Linked DNA regions of Homo sapiens: region 1 is linked to region 2. The links are contacts of gene promoters, found by promoter capture Hi-C in blood cells and fetal thymus (Javierre and others, 2016). All regions are on one chromosome and are shown on one strand. The core of a region is centred on a gene start or on the middle of the fragment in contact, and the rest is flanking DNA. Distances in the headings are between cores, read along the strand shown. Region 1 holds the start of OMA1 (OMA1 zinc metallopeptidase). Region 2 has its middle 4.1 kb from the start of NFIA.

The links. The method cuts DNA at HindIII sites, captures the fragments that hold promoters and counts their contacts. A CHiCAGO score of 5 or more calls a contact.
Region 1: the fragment with the promoter of OMA1 here is called in contact with a fragment that was not itself captured in region 2 in 1 of 17 cell types (total B cells); the score reaches 5.3 in total B cells.

The regions. Positions count from the first base shown.
Region 1 is chr1:58,545,429-58,548,128 of GRCh38, forward strand. It overlaps OMA1 (OMA1 zinc metallopeptidase), which reads right to left and starts at 1,298. Exons shown (of 9, transcript NM_145243.5): 1 at 1,275-1,298. It also overlaps a transcript of DAB1 not described here. RefSeq lists enhancers at 707-1,333, 1,547-1,736 and silencers at 947-1,036, 1,047-1,146. The HindIII fragment of the contact is 5,811 bases long and covers 471-2,700 here.
Region 2 is chr1:61,077,077-61,079,776 of GRCh38, forward strand. It overlaps a transcript of NFIA not described here. Among named protein-coding and RNA genes, the nearest start is that of NFIA, 4.1 kb to the right of the region's middle. The HindIII fragment of the contact is 445 bases long and covers 1,029-1,473 here.

The sequences.
Region 1 (2,700 bases), core at 48-2,547, 2.5 Mb before region 2:
TGAAGAAAGGGTAAAGAATGAGGGAAGAAATCTATTCATGCATTTTCAAGGAGCCAATCACTAGACTACAGAGCACATAAGAAAAAAAAAAATCAGGGCTGACATATTCTCTTCAAAGAGCTGTGGCAGGTCAACAAACATAGCTGGCAGACTTCTAGGATAACAAAATTAATGATGTGAGAAAATTAAACAATTTGGATTGTTAGCCTCTACGAACATTTCAGATCCTTAATTCTTTAAGTACCATCTCCGAATGAGCAAGTGCAGCACTCACTGGCACTCACAGCTGAAGCCTGGAAGACAGTTTTAACAACTCTTGCTGAAAATGACTATTTCTTCTCTAGTTTCTATGGAAACAGCTGTCAGATTGGCAAAAATAGGACATGTACTTTAAAATAATCATTCAAGCAAAGTACACACATGATGGAAGGCTTTAAAAAAGAATTGGACGGCAGCAGACTTGGTTCTTAAGCTTCCAAATGTCAGACTACACCCCTTCACCCCGGCTGAGAATGACGGAGATGAACCTAAATCCTTTTAGCGAGGGTTGCACGACCTTGATCAACGCCTGAATGCCAAATAAGGGATTTTCATCTCCCTGGACTACAATTTCTTGTTGAGGATTGCACGGCACAATAAAACTGTTGCTCCACACACAGGCGACATTTAAACAGTATACAGTGAGTTCTGTAGACGAGTTTACGAGGAAATTGTTAAAACTCCCCGGAACTGCTTAGACGGGGAATGTTCTGGTTTGCCCTGCCGAGTTTAGGCTGGAAAACGTGTTCAGTTTCTCCTGAAGAGGGAAGGGGTGAAAGAGACGAATGCCCGACGCGCCGGGAGGCGGTCCCCTCTGGCAGAGGTGCCGGGTGAGGAGCCCGAAGCCCCGCGGGTGAGAAACCCTGCTCTGAAAGCGGAGCCGCGGATAAGGGCGGGCTGAGGGGGAGGGCAGGCGGCCCACGAAAGTACTGCCACGGGGCAGACACACGGGGTCACCGGCGTGCCCCGGGCAAGGCTAGGGGAGAACCGGGCTCCCCCAGGACAGATCCCCTCCGTCTCCCGCCCCGGCGCCCCCCGCCCCTCCCCTCCACGCAGCCTTATCGCCCACCCACGCCTCCTCCCGTACCCCCATCCCCAAGGATCCCCACTCCTTGCCCGGGCGCCCCCGCAGGCGCTCTGCGCTCCGCCCCCTCCCCACTGCCGCACTCTGCCTCCTCCCCTGGGCACGATCCTACTCGGAAAAGCTGGGGAAAAGCGTCACCGTGAGGACTGACTCAAGCAGAAGCGAAAGCGGTGACACCGCAGACCCGACCTATGCGCAGGCGCGCACCCGCACTTCCTGCCCGCCATACCGGCCGGGGCGCCCTTCGCTCCGCCCACACCCGGCAGTCAATACAGCCGCCCAGAGTCGTTCTCCCAGCTGCCCCGGGCCCCGCGGAGACTGTGGCGCTCTAGCGCCTCCGTGTGGCTTAAGGCGGGACATGGCCCTGGGCTGGGCTGCTTGCCTAGGAACAACTTTCTCCCGTCTTTGGTGAGTTGGGTCCTCTAAAGAATGATCCACGCAAGGCTGTGTCCGTTGTAGTCTCTACGGCAGTACCGGCCAAAAGGGAAGAGACTCGAAGACTGCCAAAAGACGAAGGCTTCCTGGTTCTGAATCTGCATTCATAGAAATAGTCTTTGGAGTATGGGAACAGTGCTTTCATATGATTTTTGGAGGGACGCATTTTAAGAAAGATGAAGTATAATCTTAAGTGTCTGGAGGTTAAAGTAGCTGGCTCCAAAATTATGTGTATAGTATGTTTCATTCATTTCACCAAAACATATTTCTTGAGCATCAACTACATTTTAAGTGCCAAGGATGTAGCAGTGAACAAGACAGACCTGAATTTCGTGAACTTTATATCACAGTGAGGAAAGACAGGCGATTAAAAAAAAGTGTACAAATAAACACAAATAAATAAAAGTGTACAAATAAGCCAGTACAAATAAACACTGGATTGTGATGGATGAGTAGTGAGGTCTCATATTAGTTTATTATGTTTACACTCTGTGCACAATGAAAACATCTCAAAGGACATAAACACTATGTCAAAGGACATAAACACTATGAACAATTTTAGGTATCTCTTTTGGAAAATGTGTAAGTTACTGTTTCGTTTATCTTATGTGTATTTTATGATTTGCCTTTTACTTTGAAAGGGATATCCTGGAAAACCCCTGACAACTGGACCCCTAAAAACTGAAGTAGGAGGTCCTTCAGTCTTCGTAGGGTTTATCTCCCAAACTCTGGAGTGCACATGTCTTACCAAAGTTTCCAGCATGCTAGCCACCTCTTGCTCATCTTGCCTGGTTAGCATAATGTCATTGGTGAAATAGATGGGTGTGATGTTCTCTGGAATTTCCAGTTGATCCAGCTCCTTTTGGACTGCGCAGAGCCATTATGTCATTATCCTGGGTCCACCTGATTTCCAAAGGGGCCAGACTGGCAAGTTAAGTAGAGATATGGCAGGGATGACCAACCACTCTTGTATATTTCAGGTCTTTAATTATGACATTAATCTCCACCATCATCTCACTATCCCCTCAGATGAAATATCGGTTTTGATTTATTATCTTCACTTGGAAAGAAGGACAGCTTCAGAGGCTTCCCATTGGCTTTCCCCACCATGATAACTCAAGACCAAGGACCCTGAGCTTCTT
Region 2 (2,700 bases), core at 1-2,500:
TGGCGGGGAGACAGACTGGAGGAGGGGAGAAGGGGGCAAGGCCTTTTCCCTGCCCCCTCCCTGCCCCCTCCGCCGCAGGCTGCCGCCGGTACCTCGTGCGTGGTTACTATGCAAATTGCAGCGATTGCGGAAATAAACAAGGGAGTTGGGAGAGGAGAGAGGGACTGCCGAATCGATTGCAACTTCTGCAAAGTCTCGTACAATCCAAAGCACGCAAGGCAAAACCAGAGCGAATCTGAGAACCAGCCAGCCCGGGTTGGATCGCTTTCAAAAGAGAGAGTGAGAGCGAGCGAGCGAGCGAGCGAGAGCGAGACAGTGAGAGAGGGAGAGAGCGCGCCTTGCAATTGCAAAAGCCTTCTGATTTGGAGTTAAAAAAAAAATTCTCCAAGAAGCCTGCAATTGGCCAACAGCTTTTTAAAAAATCTCTTCCGGGTTTTCAACGGTTCCAAGTTTATTTAGATATTTTTTAAATGCAAAAAAAAGGGGACAACAAATGAAGCAATTCGTCTGAGCATTTTAAAGTTTCTCACGTACTCTTTTTACATTGCAATGGTACGTGGTACATCTTAAACTTTCTATTTTGCATTTATATGATATGCGTTTTATAAACAATGGTAGAATGATTTTGTTTAATGGCTAAGACTAAAATTTCTCTAGCTCGCATATGCACTTAAGTGATTGCTGGGTAAATGTCTATTGTGATGGTTTTGTTTTAAAGATGTAGCTTTGTTGATGGTGTTTTTGCTATGTGCATCAGAGACCGGGTTTTCTTTTTCTTTTTTTTTTTTTTCGGGATTTGAAAAAATTGCTGAGCTTGACAGATTTTTTTTTCCTCCTAGCGCTTGCTCGGTTCCAGAAAGGGGTGGGGGGAAATCCTGTACGTGCTCTGTTCTGTAAAAGACGTCTGGCCTCAGCAGTCAACCTAACCCGAAAAGAAATGTCTGGACCCGGAGAATAATTGACGATTTGATCCTCTAATCAATGGGACAACTTGGGAGATTGACAAAAGCTTTATCCAATCATAAGGAAGCTTGGGTGTACAATAGTTCTCAATAGCCAGAGGGGGCGGGGCAGAGGAGATCTGAAGTTCTCTGCAGCTCTGAAGGGGATGGTGTGGTTCAAGCTGTCAAAGCTACAAGCGCTTCCGGATTTAGCAAGCACAATAGGAAAGAATTTTCGCGTTTAAGAAAAAAAAAAAAGCTGATCGGGGGAGTTTTGCATGAATCGTGTGCCTTCTTCCTTGTCTTTTGGAAAAAGAAACATTCTGCTAGAGAAATAACTTTGTATTGTTATTAACTTTGCATTAGCTATTATTTTTATGCTCAGGGAAGCTGGTAACTTGTGGAATGTGAAGTTCAACTTTAAGAAACGTGTGGCTTAAATCTTGCCTGAATTGTGGGACTGTAGTGAGCTTTGGGAAGTAATATATTGCGTATTCAGCATTACAAAACTTCTTACTCTGATTATCTTAGAAGCTTTGGCATTTCAAGTACTTTGAAATTAATAGGTAAACCTCTCTTCTTGAACTCTAAACAACAGTTTTAAAGGAGAGAATGTTTCACATGTGGACTAGCAGCTGTCTTACACACTTGAAAGAAATTAGGGGAGTGTTTTTTCTTGGCTATTCTTGAATTCTGCTTTTTAAGTATATGGTCAGTAGGAAATAGGACGTTAAGACTGGCCAAGTTCACGTTTCTCCTTGTTACCACAACAACCCCCGTGGAGAGTGTATGGAAGATCGCTGACTTGCTAACTGTTAGTTGGAGTCTGGCCTCTTGGACAAGTGCTTGATACAAATCCAGTGGAAACCAACTGCAGTAGCTTGTCTTGGAGACAGTAACTGGCAGCCTCTGACTAAAATATCTCCATCTCCTCCTCTCTGAGCAGCGTAGACACCCAATTCTGTTGGGAAGTGAATGGAAAATAATATGGGCTCTTTCCCTTCTTTGGATTAAATTCCCATCGAGCTATTTCCCAAGGCTTTAGGCCTTCCAGTCAAATCTGGCTTGGAAATTTGATGTAAGAATTCACTTGGACACTCACTTCAGCAACATGATTCAATTTAGGATTATATGCACATAAGAAAAATCTGCACAGAAGTGACCAGCAGGTCAAAAACCAGAGAAGAAAAAATGTTGAAAAATGCCAGTTAATAAAGTTAGTTTTGGTAAGAACTACAGAGTTATGGTGTTGTCGCTTATGAATCCCAGTCCTATCTTCACTGCTTTGGGTATTAAAATCTAAATCATATTAATAAGATCTCCCTATTAAGTAACCTCCAAAATGAGAGCTATTTGAGATGTACATATAAGTGAAACCTTATTGACGTAATTTATATATCTAAGAGGATTTCACTAAAGCTGGCAAGGTAACGTTTCTGCAAATAAAACACAGTAAATGCAAGGCTGGGCTCTGTGCCAGGAAGAATATGGATAGCAGAGAGCATGACAGGAGCCTCCTTTGCGCAGAGACAATCCCATTTCAAGGCAGCCTCCTACCACTTGGAAAATAAATGATTGGAGAGGTTATTTCCAATAAGGGGTTTATCCTTCCTAACAATGGGTCATTTATATGATTGCAGTGAACTAGTTTCCATACTTCACCTGCGTTTCCTCCACTGCTCTCTCTACTATCCTTTCTTTCTTCCCTCCTCCTCCATCCCTGCTCTCTCTCAAGTGCCTTAGTATCTTTGTGAACTCT